Regions from separate parts of the Homo sapiens genome. Here region 2 is linked to region 1. Evidence: promoter capture Hi-C in 16 types of primary human blood cells and fetal thymus (Javierre and others, 2016). All regions are on one chromosome and are shown on one strand. The core of a region is centred on a gene start or on the middle of the fragment in contact, and the rest is flanking DNA. Distances in the headings are between cores, read along the strand shown.

Region 1 (7,109 bases), core at 3,276-5,775:
TATTCTTGCTGCACAGTATGCAAATAATTAGGATAAGTATAATAAAGCAAATCAGTCCTACCATGATTTGTCTTTAAAAATGGGAAACTGGAGAGAGAAAAATTATGTTTCAAAAACTGTAGTACACCTGTTGTTAGATTCTAGTCTTGTCTGATGTTTTTCAGTTTTATTATTTTCTACAGTTTGGACTGAATTCTAATTTTTTTTGGCTATAAGTTTTCAAAATAATGTTTTTAATTTTTTTTCCTTTTCCCCCCATTTTTCCTAATTTGGAGTCACTGAAAACAAAGCTGTGCTTTTGTAAAGCTCTGCAAACTGAAACTAGACAACTTGAACTTCAGAAGAAAATAACAGCAAAACCTATTTACATACATAAGCCACTTTCATACCTGCCTACTGATGTATGGACTTCAGAGTAATGTGGTCTACATTGATTTTCCAAAATATTTCTTTTGTTTATTGTTGTTGTTCTCCCTTCCTCCCCCTATTTTCTCTTCATAGGACATGAGACTTTACAACTTTCTAAAAATGAGCTTTCCTAATAACTCAGGACCTACCTGTCTAGGAATAAATCATCCTAGCCATGAGATATCAGATAAAAGACTAAACCTGGAACCAGAGACTAATTTGCTCCAAACGATTTATTTTTTTGAGACAGAGAATGCACCTATCATGCAGGCTGGAGTGCAGTGGCATGATCTCAGCTCACTGCAATCTCTGCCTCTCAGGTTCAAGCGATTCTCTTGCCTCGGCCTCCTGAGTAGCTAGGATTACAGGCGTGCACCACCACACCCAGCTAATTTTTGTATCTTTAGTAGAGACGAGGTTTCACCATGTTAGCTAGGCTGGTCTTGAACTCCTGACCTCAGGTGATCCACGTGCCTCAGGCTCCCTTAATGCTGTGATTACAGGTGTGAGCCACCATGCTCGGCCTTCAAAAGATTTTTCAAAAGAAAAGGGGGGAAATGCGAAAGAAAAATATCTTGGGCCCCCCAAATCATTAAGCTAAAGGGAAAAGTCAAACTGGGAACTGCTTATAGCAAACCTGCCTCCCATTCTATTCAAAGACTTCTCACCAAGATAAACGCATATCTGATTGCCTGCTTTGGAGAGGCTAATCAGAAACTTGAAAGAATGCAACCACTTGTCACTTATCTACCTATGACCTGGAAGCCCCGCTCTCCACTTCAAGTTGTCCCGCCTTTCCAGACCAAACCAATGTTCATCATACATACATTGATTGATGTCTCATGTCTCCCTAAAATGTATAAAACCAAACTGTGCTCTGAACACCTTAGGCACAGGTCATCAGGACCTCCTGAGGCTGTGTCACGGGTGTGTGTCCTCAACCTTGGCAAAATAAACTTTCTAAATTAACTGAGGCCCATCTCAAATTTTGGGGGTTCACAGTCCCTTGGGTAAACATTCAACAAACCAGGACCTCACCCTTTCTTGCTGATACCCTGATTCATACAGTGCTCAAAAAGTTTTGTTAATTTTGACAAACCGCAACCTATACATTGAGTTTTAAATCCCATTTTCTTTACTGTCAATACCATTCAAAGTTTTAATATTTTTCTCAAGTTTCAAATCACTCCACACACTGTACAGTAAGTCTTCACTTAACACCATGGACAGGTTCTTGGAAACTGCAATTTTAAGTGAAATGACATACAGCAGGTCCTCAAACAACATTATTTCCTTCACTGTGATTTCATTATGACATTGATGAGAAAAAGAAAATTGGTTTCATTATATGCCATTTTGCTTAAAATCATAGTCTCTAAGAACCTATAGATGACGTTAAGTGAAGACTGACTTCATTTCTTTCAACCTCTTTCTTTTCCTCCCTCATTCCTTCGCTCATTCAGCAGAGACTGAGAGATGACTAAGTGCCAGGAAGTGTGCTGCCCTGGAACTCACATTCAGGTGAGAGATATAAATAATGAATTCCAACTCCAAAGGAGAAGGGAAGCAATGGGAAGCTGTACAAAGGCCAGCAGGCACTGAGCCCTCCCTGCTGTGTTCCCCAGCTGAAGTCCAGAGCCATAATTACCACTAGCACAGTGCTCTGTAGCATGGCTTCTGAGCTCTCCTTTGCTCTTGCTCTCTGCTCCTCACTCCCTCCCCACACACCCACAGCTCCCAGAGGTGAACTTTACAGTGTGTTAGCACTGTGCTAGCACTCTGCATACATTAGCTCATTTAATGCAACCACACAATGAAGCAAACATTATTATCTCCATTTTACACAGAAGGAAACTGAGGCTGGGGCAAACTAAGTGGTGTGCTGGTAAGTGGCAGAGCTGCCTCATTTAACCATGACCCTACACTGCCTCATGAACCTGAAACACACGTGAGCCCAGGATATGGGTGCTGGTCATTTTCTTGAAGGTTAAAAAGCCCTTTACCACAGATTTCCATTTCAAAGCTGCAGTGTTTCAGGAAGAGATTTTTTTTAAAAAAAGAAAAAGTAGCTCTTTTCTGAGTGTTCTAATGGTTGAATAGAAAATACGGGGTTGGTAGGCCAGGAAGCTGTCAACACCTCTCTTCATTATACTAATTGCTCTGAAGATGAAATAAGGTTTGTTTCTCCCTTCTTATCCTACTCACAGACCTAGCTCTGCTACTTCAGAATAGCATCTGCTATGGGTCAAGGGAGGCATTTTCCCCCCTCATTATACAGAGACTAAAACAGGACCATAGCACGTGAATAACTCACCCTGGTCCACAGCCAGTGAGAGGTAGCCCAATGTCCCAGCAACTGTCCTCATTCGTCAGGGTGCCCCAGTGGCTGCCTTTATTTCAGCCAGGCATGCCTCACTCTCTCCCATACAAGCAGTTCTCACTCCAACCTTTGTATAATTTTTTTTTTCACAATTTCTTCCCATCCTAGAACAGCCTCTTCCTCCCAATACCCACCATACTATCTGAGCATAGTTAGGCCTCTATGCCCACTCCAGCCTAGTCTCTCTCCCCTTTACTCTCACTGCCCTGGACCTCACCAGAGATTAGCATCAGTGTCCTGTTTTATGACCTAATTATGTCATGTGCATTGCACTTGCCTGCTGCAATACATGCCAGCCTGCTCGGGCAGGGCCAAATCTTCTATCATAATACTACGGGGATATTCCCATAGCAATGTAGTTCTGAGGCCATAGGAGAGATGGATACATAGTTTGTGGCTGAAGTCTGTGTAATCTACTAGGCTTAAAGCATCTCTTTTCTGCATGTTTTCAAGCAAGGATGCTGAATTCTACATGTAATGATATGTTATAAACTCTACACACATTGGAACCTCTCACATCCTCTCAACCCACCTCTTATTCCAGCCCCCTCTGCAGCCTGTTTCCCCCGGCTGTCCCCCACCCCCCAACCCTCTGAGAAACAACCTGACAGCGCCTCACCTTTTGCCATGCTATGCACCCAGGGCTTCTAAGAGACAAGGTATGGGACCATGACTGAAACTCACCACTGCTGTAGAACAGTGCAGAGGAGTTAATAACCCTAGGATCTCCCTTACCAACAGGGAAGGATAAAGTCCATGGATAAACGCTTGCCCCTTTTGTCCTCGACAGACAGTTCTGAGGCTCTCTGAGGTTCCTGCAGGACTGAGCACCTTTTGTTAAGGCCATGGCCAAGGCAACCACTTTCCCTTCTTCCCCATTTGGCTCTGACCTTCAATCTTGCTCCCTGCTAGGCATTTCCTTCCAGGCTCTGCTTTCTGCCCCTCCCCTCCCCCTCTCTTATGTTTTAATGACTAATGTCAAGGTCCCGCTGAGGAAAGGTCTTATATGAGCCTGTTCTCAGAATATTAAACGCTTCCAGTGTTCTGCTGGTTATTTGAAGGAGGACAGTTAGAACGACTACATTCTAGCCAGGGCTGTCCTACTTGCTAGAGAGTAACTTTTGCTGGATTAGGAAGTAACCTAGAGCAAAGCACTTCGACTTTCTGGGCAGGGTTTCTCAGCTGTAAAAATGGGATAATAGGGACCCCGGCTACTTTGCGGGGCTTGGGGGATCAAAGGAGTTGGAAAGAGGAGGTTATTTCAAAACCGAAGGAGCTGAATAGAAGAATCTCCGGGTTACTCTGGGGCAAGGAAGGTGGAGACCACGGCGTGGCCCCTCAGGTGTCTCCAGTGCTCCACAAGTCAAAGGAGTCCAGGACCCTCCCAAAGCGCCTGCGTCGCGGAGCAGCTGGGTTCACTCTAGGCTGCCCGCTGCAAATCCGCGGTGTTTACCAGAATCCAGGTGGTTTGCAAACCCGGATGTCAGGCTCCTTGTCCCGGAGATTCTCAAATCGCTCACCCACAACTCCTCTTCGGCCTCCCCCAGAAAGGAGAGAGCAGGGCTGCAAGCTAGAGGAGCGGAGAGTGTGACCCGAGCAGCCTCACTCCGCCTGTCCCCACCCCAAAGGCAGGAATTTCTGGGATGGGCAGATGGCCCACCCCTCCTCCTCCTCCTTCCCCAAGCCGCAGTGGGTGGGGCGAGGAAAACCTCCGCGACTTTCCCGCATCCCAGCCCAGAGCCCCGAGTGTCGGTTCACTGTGGAGACAGCGGTGGCGGAGTGGGTCTCCAGGGCTCTGGGCTGGCAAGGCCCCCGGAGGGGGTGGGGCGCGGAGGAGGCTACGGATCCGCTTCCGCGCGGCGGGGCCGGGTGCTTGGGACGCGGCTCTGGGCTCCCGGGATAAGGGGCTCCCGGGACAAGGGGCTCCCGGAGAGCCCAGTGGTTAGCGATGCTGCTGTCGCCGTCGCTGCTGCTGCTGCTGCTGCTGGGGGCGCCGCGGGGCTGCGCCGAGGGTGTGGCGGCGGCGCTTACCCCCGAGCGGCTCCTGGAGTGGCAGGGTGAGTCTCCCAGGGTCGGGGACTGGATCGGTACGTTGGGGAGGGGGGTCGGGGTGGTCGAAGGAGAGGAAGAAGGGGCGAAGCTAGGGGCCAAGCTGGCGGGCAAGGGCGGCCGCGTTTGTAGGGGTTCGTGTGTCAGCAGTCCTGAGCATGGGGGGAGCGGGTGGTGTCCTGCAGCCTCTTGTCTAGGCCCAGCACCCCACTTGCGCGGCCCGGCACCCTCCTGGCTCCTGCGGGGGTCGGGCGGCGGGGGCGGGGGGGCTTGGTCTCGCAGGTAACTCCTCTCGGCTCTGGCGCCCGGAGCCAGCCCGGGATAGGAGTGTCGGAGAAGTTTCAAAACGGAAACTTTCTGAGAGCTGCTTATTTGGGACGGATAAATGATAGCAAAAAGATGGCTCAGTTCGTCCCCTTGCAAAGCAAGCGCTCAGGGTCTGCGTCGCCACCTAGGAGTGACCCCCAAGCCAGGCCTCCCCAGTCCATCCCTTCCTTAAGGAAAACTTTTTTTGTTTGTTTGTTTTTTGAGACAGGGTCTTGCTCTGTCGCCCAGGCTGTAGTGTAATGGCGGGATCTCGGCTCACTGCAGCCTCCGCCTCCCGGGGTCAAGCGATCCTCCCACCTCAGCCTCCCGAGTAGCTGGGACCACAGGTGTGCGCCCGCACGCCCAGCAAAATTTTTGTATTTTTGGTGGAGACGGAGTTTCACCATGTTGCCCAGGCTGGTCTCCAACTCCTGGGCCCAAGTGATCCGCCCACCTCGTCCTCCCAAAGTTCTGGGATTACAGGCCTGACCCACCGCACCCCGCCTGAAAACATCAGGCCAGGTGAGGGAGAGAAGCCCCAGTGGCTCCATGAACTGCGTGATCTGAAGCCTTTATGCCTTAGTCTCTCTCAGTGGAAAAACGGGGTTCAATTCAGCAAACACTTATTGAGCACCTACTACACATGAGACTCAGAAGGTTGTGTAAAGAGAGGGAGGAGAGATTTCTGGCCTGCAGGGGCCCGCATTTGAGAATGGGCCACCTCAGGCAGAGAAGCCTGCGCCTAAGTGCAGAAGTCCATATATGCAAGTAGGAGGGGGACAGGAGGGAGTTAAATATGCCAGGAGGAGCCTCCAGACAGCCTCCATCCTCTCTGCCTTTGGAGATAAGTTTGGAGAGAAGGGGTAACACAAGATGTGATCAATATCTGCGTTCACATTTTTTCCTCCACAGTAGAATATGTCTACATTTTTGAGGTAGTCTTTTCTAGACTGTGTTTCCTAAGCTCCCTGGAGGCTTAATCAGGGGCAGGTAGAACAAGACCATTCTTATTCTAAAGTGACCAAAGTCAGAGATGCTCTTACCTTCTTGGTCAATTCAGAAAATTGCTCCTGTGGATGCACATCTGATCCTGTAGTATGTATGATTCCTTCCCACTAAGTTTACCATGCAGTGGTTATTCCTTTGCATTTTAAAATGTGGGTTTTGCCTGGGCACTAGGTGGTAGAACAGGGCAGCAGCCCACAGGACAGAAGTTGGACTGGGCCACACAGAGAGTATGTGCTGGTGATCCTCCGAGTGAAGGGCTAATCCCTTCTATATGTAGCAGAACCAAATACTGGCCTGAGACAAATTCTCATCAGTGCCTTCTTTTTAGTAGTCAAGGGCACTCTGAAATTAGAGCCATCTGCTAGCCCTTGTACCTACTAGGTGCAATTTGCACATCTGAAAAGGTTGACATAGTTGGCATAGAGATTCTTCAGATATGAAAATGCTGCTGCTGATTTTCCAAGGAGCACGGAGGTTATGTACCATTCCTCGCACAGGCACAGGCTCTCTCCCTGACTCCAGTCACCTGCATGAGTAGAATTTCAAGTGTAAGCTGGACAGGTTTGAAGTCAAGTTTTTACTGTCAATACAAAATGGAAAAACAAAATCTTAACATTGAAAAGAACCTGAGACATTGTCTACTCTAGCCCTCTATTCTTCAGATGTGGAAGTTGAGGTATGGCTACCATGTAGTTAGCCATGCTTTGGGGTGCCTCAGTTTACCGCTGTGTTCACTGTACCACATTGACTCACTTTAGCCACGATTGACATCCACAGAGCAACTGAGAGAAAAATGCACACTCATTTTCATTTCCAATCCACTAATAATGGCTATGTAATAATGCACAGCAGATTATACATACAGCATTTTTTATCTGAATTGTTTGATATGTATTATTTGTAGATCTGATATGTATTACAAGCATGCCAGCCTTGGGAGGCAGATGATGGATTGTAC
Region 2 (7,109 bases), core at 1,381-3,880, 870 kb before region 1:
GAGCAAGGAAGCCAGTCCAAGTCCCAAAGCTGAAGAACTAGGAGTCTGATGTTCAAGGGCAAGAAGCATCCAGCACGGGAGAAAGATGTAGACTGAGAGGCTAAGCCAGTCTAGTTTTTTCACGTTTTTCTGCCTGCTTTATATTCCGGCCACACTGGCAACTGATTAGGTGGTGCCCACCCAGATTAAGGGTGGCTCTGCCTTTCCCAGCCCACTAACTCAAATGTTAATCTCCTTTGGCAACACCCTCACAGACACACCCAGGATCAATAATTTGCATCCTTCAATCCAATCAAGTTGACACTCAGTATTAACCATCACAGAGGGCTTGCTTGCCTGAGTAAGAGATGAGAACTAGAACACTAGACATCTGGGGAGAAGACCAGGAAGTTCACAGGGATAAGTGAGTTGGACTGGAGGGTGATGAGCAGATATTGAATGTGTTCCTTATGACACAAAATGGCAGACATCTTTGGAATAGGCAGAAGATAAACTGGAAGTAAAGGAATGTTGAAGATAATGATTACACAGTACTGTAATCAAGATCCAAATAACTTGATGTGGCAACAACAACAACAAAATGGCTGTTCTTGGGGACCAACAGTGAGTCGATGTGTGTGGGTGTTGATGGGATGTGGAAAGAGGAATCAAAGGCAGGCAGAGGTACATCAGGGATGACTCCACTGACCATGAGGGAAAGGCTCTGAGACTCAAGATGCTCTTGGATTGTTAATATCAGAAATGTGCAGTAGCAGCATTGACTTTGGGGATGGAGATTGCCTTAGTACTGGAGAGAGGTCAGGGCGGATGCTCAGTTCTGTGAAAGAGGTGATGGCACTCATGGACTTCAGAGGCCTCCTCTAGATGTGACAGTCATTGGATATCCATTTCAGATGGGAAATACTGATACTCCAAATAGTTTGTCTATATTATTCTTACAATTTATCTGGGTCACAGAAGAATTCCCTTCTTACTGCAATTAAACAATGAATATCTGATTCCATGCCTAAGAGTAATTCAACATGGAGAATAAGGCATTGGGAACTCCTGGATTTTTTTTCTAGGCTTTTAAATGCTTTACTGAACAAGTCTAATTGCTCAATTTCCCTGCCAGAATCTCATCACTGGTTAAATGAATTCAGTAGTATTCACTTCAAAGCAATATTGTGAAGCTTAATTAATGAATGTCTTATTTATAAATTCTGACAAAGAATTGTTTTACTTCAAACCTTCAGGATAAAACCAAATTGAACCTGAGTTTTTCTGTGTCAATGGCTTTTCAAAGAAACAGTCTCTCTTTCTCCCTCTGGAGAAATCAGCGTAAACAGGGTTGGAATTTATCTAAACAAAAGAATGGGGCATTTTCATCATTTCACCATAAAATGGAATTTTTCTTGGAAAGGAGGTGCTTTTGTATTCAGTGTTCAATTTAGACTTGACTTTACCTTCTCCCACTGCCTGTCAATTATCGAGGACTAGGGAACACTTAGATTTAAGTGGTAAGCAGAGTTTATCCAGGGAGACAGAATCAGGGCAAAGTTGCATATTACATTCATTTTTAAATTTCTGTTCCCTTGGCTGTCTGTGGCCTGTAACTATAGCTACATGGTCAAATATTGTTTTTTCATATCTACCTCTCTTGGGGTGTGTGGGCAAATGCCAAAGAACAAAATAGCTGGAATAGTTTTGAGAAATTTCTCCACGTTTTTAAAACCCATTCATTGTATGGGAGAGATGACAAATCTATGTAGAAATCCTGTTTGGGCCTCACACAAAAATAACCCCACAGTTCTCTGTGGTATTTGGCCATCTCCTGTTTTTTTGTTTCAGGGTGACACAAGGTTAGATAAACCACAAGCACCGTTCTACTGGAGTCAAGGTTACAGTAAAGAAAGAAAGGGTTGGTGAATGTCAAGGTCAGTGGTTGTGGAAAACAGAATGGGTGGTGAGCTATAAAAATGGGAGCTTGGTTTTGGCAAATTGTGAAGCAGGTAAAGATTGCCTGCAATATTCCCTCCCTTTTCCTCTCCCTACACACCTCCACTTCTCCCCTCTACCAAAAGCCTATTCTTCACATGGCTATCTGGGTCTCTGTGCGCTCAAGTCACAATGGAAACTAAAGTTCCATTGCTGAAGTACTGGCTGATGCTTGAGAGATGTGTGGAGGGTGCCTGTGGCTTAGGTCTATGCAGAGATGCCTGTGGGCCCCTTACATAGATAAATAGGAGGGGAAATAGCTTTGGCCCAGTTAGGGTGGGGTTGGATGTAGGTGGAGTTTCTTGCTGGGAATAGGGAAGGAGGACTTAGAAACTCAAATGCTAAAATTTTAGACCTATGCAAGCTAGTAAAAGAGCTGTCTTTGAACCCTTTAAAGCACAAGATGTAGAGTATTGCCTGAAAGCACAGAATAGATTACTACAACTAGGAGGAAAGAATCACTTGGTTGGGACAATCAATGGCCCTGGTACCCAGCCCCAGGGCACTACATTTAATTTTCAGAATTAAACCAAACATTTTCAGAGATTCAGAATCACCTTGATATTTTTCATGTCTAGTTTCCAGCTGGAATGATATTTCAAAGTGCCAGAATTCTCATAAGACAACTACATTTTACAAATATCCAACCAATTCTGCAGGAGAGAGAGGTTTGGATGACAGTTATTAACAATCCTGATAAACTTCATGAAAGCATCCACCATTTTGGCTTCTTGTCCTGATGGAATTATAACTCCTTTTGATTTTCCATCTCTATAACTTTTTGAAAGAATAATAGAGTGAGAAATGCTTTAAACTTATACAATTTACATCCCATAAACTTATTCTGTATAAAACTTATTGGCCCATTTTGGAAAGAAAAACTTTTTATTTTTATTTTTGGCAGTGGCTATAAATAGCTGTATCATTATAACACTGTGAAGAATCATGGACTGAGAAAAGCTGAAAAGAAAACAAGAAAAAATAAATTCCTGTTTTTATCTTATAGGGCAAATAAATATTGGATTTCTCACAAGAGGCCTATAAAGTATTTTATAAGCAATAAATCCTTAATCTCTTAAGGAGGCAGCATGCTATGTTGGAATAGGAATCAGAGAGCAGTTTGTCCTCTAACTAGCTCTGTAATACTGGGTAAATGTGGCAGGCACGCTTGATTGTCTACCCAAAAGCCATTCTTCTAGGCTAATAGCTCCCCTCATTAGTCAACTCCCCACAGCTTGACAAATTCTCACCCCAGGGATGGAATCATGATTGGTCCAAGCTAGTCAAAGGACACCCCTGTCCTTTGTCAATGAATGGGTTAGTGGTGATCATGTGATCCAGTCTGGCCAATGAGATGAGAGGGGAAGACAGCTGGGGCCTTTCTTCAAAAAACTTCTTTGCACTGTAAAAAGATCCCAGCACTTTGGCAGGCTGAGGTGGGATCACTTGAGCTCAGGAGTTCCAGACTATACTGGGCAACATGGCGAAACCTCATCTCTACAAAAAAATACAAAAATTTGCCAGGCATGGCGGCATGCACCTGTAGTCCCAGCTACTCATGAGGCTGAAGTAGGAGGATTGCTTGAGCCCAGGAGGTGGAGGCTACGGTGAGCTGTGATCACCCCACTGCACTCCAACCTAGGCTACCAAGTAAAGCCCTGTCAAAAAAAAAGAAAAAAAAGAAAAAAGAAAAAGAAACACAAAAGACATCAACTATCAGCTTAACTAAGTGATCCAACATGGCATCACCAAAAAAGGGGCAAAGTGACATCCGGAGTCTCCTGATGTGTTGCGATGTAAACTACATAATTGGTGATTACGACAAACCACCAATTCTTGACAAAATGTATAACTAGAGTTTGTTCATGAGGAAGCAGTCAAATCCAGGTTGTGTGATATTTTATTAGAAAACTGGCCTGGACTCTCCAAGAACATTAGTCTCTTAAAGGACAGGTAAAGAAAAGGTAGAGCAACTATTCTGATTATCGGATATCAAAGGTACTTAATCCTTGATTGAATCTTGGATCAAAGGGAGGAGAAACTGCTTCAAAAGATATTTTTGAGATAAATGAAGAAATTTAAATATGGACTATATTTTTAGATAAAGCTTTTAAAAATAAATTAAGTTTTTGGCATATATAACAATATTCTGATTATATAGAAAATGTTCTTATTCTTGGGAGAGTTACCCTGAAGAATCTCGTGGTAAACTATCACAAGGTCTGCAACTTGTTTTCAAATGATTTAATATGGGGGAGGGGAGAGAAAGCAAATGGCAACAGGTTAATCTAGTGGTTCACAGACCAGTAGCAATATCACCTAGGAACTTGTTAAAAATGCAGACCCTCAGGTCCCATCACAAAAGTAATGAATCAGACTTTAAGTTTTAGCAAAATTTCCAGGTGATTCTTGTGCACATTAAATCTTCTGGAGGGCACGTGGTATGGACAAACAGCTATATGATCTCAATATACAGACAAATGCATGAACTTTGTGGACAGAAACAGGAGAATGAAGTAGACATGCAGAGAGAAACAGAGGGGAGAAATTACAGGGCTCTAGACAAAAGTATTCCAGTTGCTATTGCTGCATAGTAGTATAAAGCAACAACAATCAGTTATAATTATCTCTCATAGTTCTGGGGTCAGCCAGGTGGTTCTCCTTGGGAGTCTCTCATGTAGCTGCTATTGGACAGTAGCCCTGGACTCATCTCAATGGCTTCCTTACCACATGTCAGATTCTTGGGCTGGAACAACTAAGGTTCCTTGGGTGTCTCTCTCTGTCTTCATATGGCCGTTCCAAGTAGTCTCTGCAGCAGGACAGCTTCAGGACAGCCAGACTTCTTATATGGATGCTCAAAGTTCCAAAAGGTCAAATTTCAAGATAGTGAGCCAGATGGAAGCCATATCACCTTTTACAACATAGCTTTGGAAATGTCCTACCACTATTCCACCATGACCCTGTTACTTGAGGCATTTACAAAGGCCCACATAGTTTCAAAAGTAGGGGGCATAGATTCTAGCTCCCAGTGTGGGAATGTCAAGGTTCAGGAAGAGTATGTAGGATGTAAAATATTGTTGCAGCCAATTTGGGAAAATACAATCTGCCACAGAAAAGAACCTCAATTCTGGATCATCAAAAGACATTGTCCAATTGTACTTATATTTCATTAGATATCTTATATATTTCTATAAAACCCACCTTTTCACTTTGTGTGTGTGTGCTAGATAGAGGGGTTTCTATAATTAACAATCAGAACAGCCTTGACTAGTGGGTATAAGTAACGATATTAGACATTCTTCTACTTGGCATCTGTCTTCAAAAAGAATCCATTTCAATCCTTATCTTATTCTAACAGGTCATGATTAGATTACTGGGAAGCACACACAATCTCTGATGGATACCTAGAAATACAGTAAGTCCAATGTGTCTAGCTGGTTGGTAGGACCCTTGCTATAGCAAGACAGCTAGCAAGTCTGGCTAGGCTCTAAGTCGCATACTCAGTAGTAAGCACCTGTATTGATTCTGTAGCTAACAAACTGCTGTTGCAATCTCTTGAGCAGTGCTTTTCTTGGTGTGGCTTTTCTTGGCTCAGGAATTTCATGCATCTGAATGTCATGGGGGAGATTATTAAGATGTAGATTCCTGAACCCTATTCATACACAATCTTTAGTGTATGAAGCCCAGGAATCTGCATTTTAAAAGCTTCCTTTGTGAAGCTCTTCCTTACATTTGTGTTCTCAAACTTTAATGTAAATCTGGGATGGGGCACGTGGTCCTGCATTTTTAAGGTGCTCCCCAGTGATGTTGCTGGTTAGTGCATCACACTTTAGTAGCAAGACCTTAAACAAGACCTCAAACTGTGGTCCCTGGACCAGCAGCATGAGCATCTCCTGGAAACTTGTTATAAATGCAGATTCTTAGGCTCTACTGCACACCTACTGTTATGGTTTTTCTGTGTCCCCACCCAAATCTCATATTGAATTGTAGCTCCCATAATTCCCGTGTGCCACGGGAGGGACCTGGTGGGAGGTAATTGAATCATGGGGATGGTTTTTCCCATGTTGTTCTCATGATAGTGAATAAGTCTCATGAGATCTGACAGTTTTATAAAGGGGAGTTCCCCTGAACATGTCCTCTTGCCTGCTGCCATGTAATACCTGGTTTCAGTATGTCTTTATTAGCAGCATGAGAATGGACTAATACACCTAGTGAATCAGAAACTCTAGGGGTAGGTTTAGCAATCTATGCTTTAACAAACCCTCTAGCTGATTCTGACGCTCACCAAAATATAAGAAGCACTGCCCTAAGGAACATCCCATTGATGGAGAGCAGAGGTTCCCAGGCACAATTTATTATCAGAATCACCTGGAGTGAGAGTGCGCCTTCTATAGGTTTCTAGACATCCTCAGGAGATGCTAATTCTATAGGTCTGGGCTGGGCCCTGGTGATTCTGAAATCAGCCAGGCTAGACAACCACTGGTTTAGAGTGATTAGCAGGGCAGTAATGCAGAGGCAAGGCTGATGCAGTCTGATGGAGGATGCCGGGGAGGAAGAAGAGGAGGGATCAAAAATAAATTTACAGTTACTTAAGTGATTACTATGTAACAAGCCCTGAGCTGAGTTGTAATTGTTGTTGTTTTTAGAGACAGGGTTTCACTATGTTGCTTAGGCTGGCCTTGAACTCCTGGACTCAAGAGATCCTCCTGCCTCAGCCTCCCAAGTAGCTGGGACTATAGGTGGGTGCCACTGCGCCCAGCTCTGGACTGGAGGTTTTATACAATGACATTTAATTCTCCTCCTATAGATGTGTTTTTCTTATCAAGCTGCCCTACATGGCAAGTATTATTACCTTCATTTGATACATCAAACACTAAAGATAAAATATGGCAAATAATTTTTCTAAAGTTATACAGCTAGTAATGGAACCAAAAATTAAAACCGGATTTCTGTTACTTTGAATCTCCTTGCACTTTACTCTGTAATCAAAAAAGAACTTCATAAGGTGGTTGAAAGGAAGTCTGGAGATCATGATGAGGGGCTGGCTGAGGGAGGCCACCACGGTCAGTGAAGCATTGAATTAATGGTATACACACCAGTTTCCCCACCTAGACAGTGGTTTTCTGGAAAGA

Evidence for each region. The method cuts DNA at HindIII sites, captures the fragments that hold promoters and counts their contacts. A CHiCAGO score of 5 or more calls a contact.
Region 2: a contact is called between a fragment that was not itself captured here and the fragment with the promoter of PLA2R1 in region 1, in 2 of 17 cell types (M2 macrophages and M1 macrophages). The highest score is 5.9, in M2 macrophages.

The regions. Positions count from the first base shown.
Region 1 is chr2:160,060,031-160,067,139 of GRCh38, reverse strand. It overlaps PLA2R1 (phospholipase A2 receptor 1), which reads left to right and starts at 4,525. Exons shown (of 30, transcript NM_007366.5): 1 at 4,525-4,845. The coding sequence starts at 4,737. It overlaps LOC105373717 (a long non-coding RNA gene), which reads right to left. Exons shown (of 3, transcript XR_007087274.1): 3 at 6,339-6,677. The HindIII fragment of the contact is 10,793 bases long and covers 1-7,109 here.
Region 2 is chr2:160,923,719-160,930,827 of GRCh38, reverse strand. No RefSeq gene overlaps it. Among named protein-coding and RNA genes, the nearest start is that of TANK-AS1, 230 kb to the left of the region's middle. The HindIII fragment of the contact is 2,912 bases long and covers 1,175-4,086 here.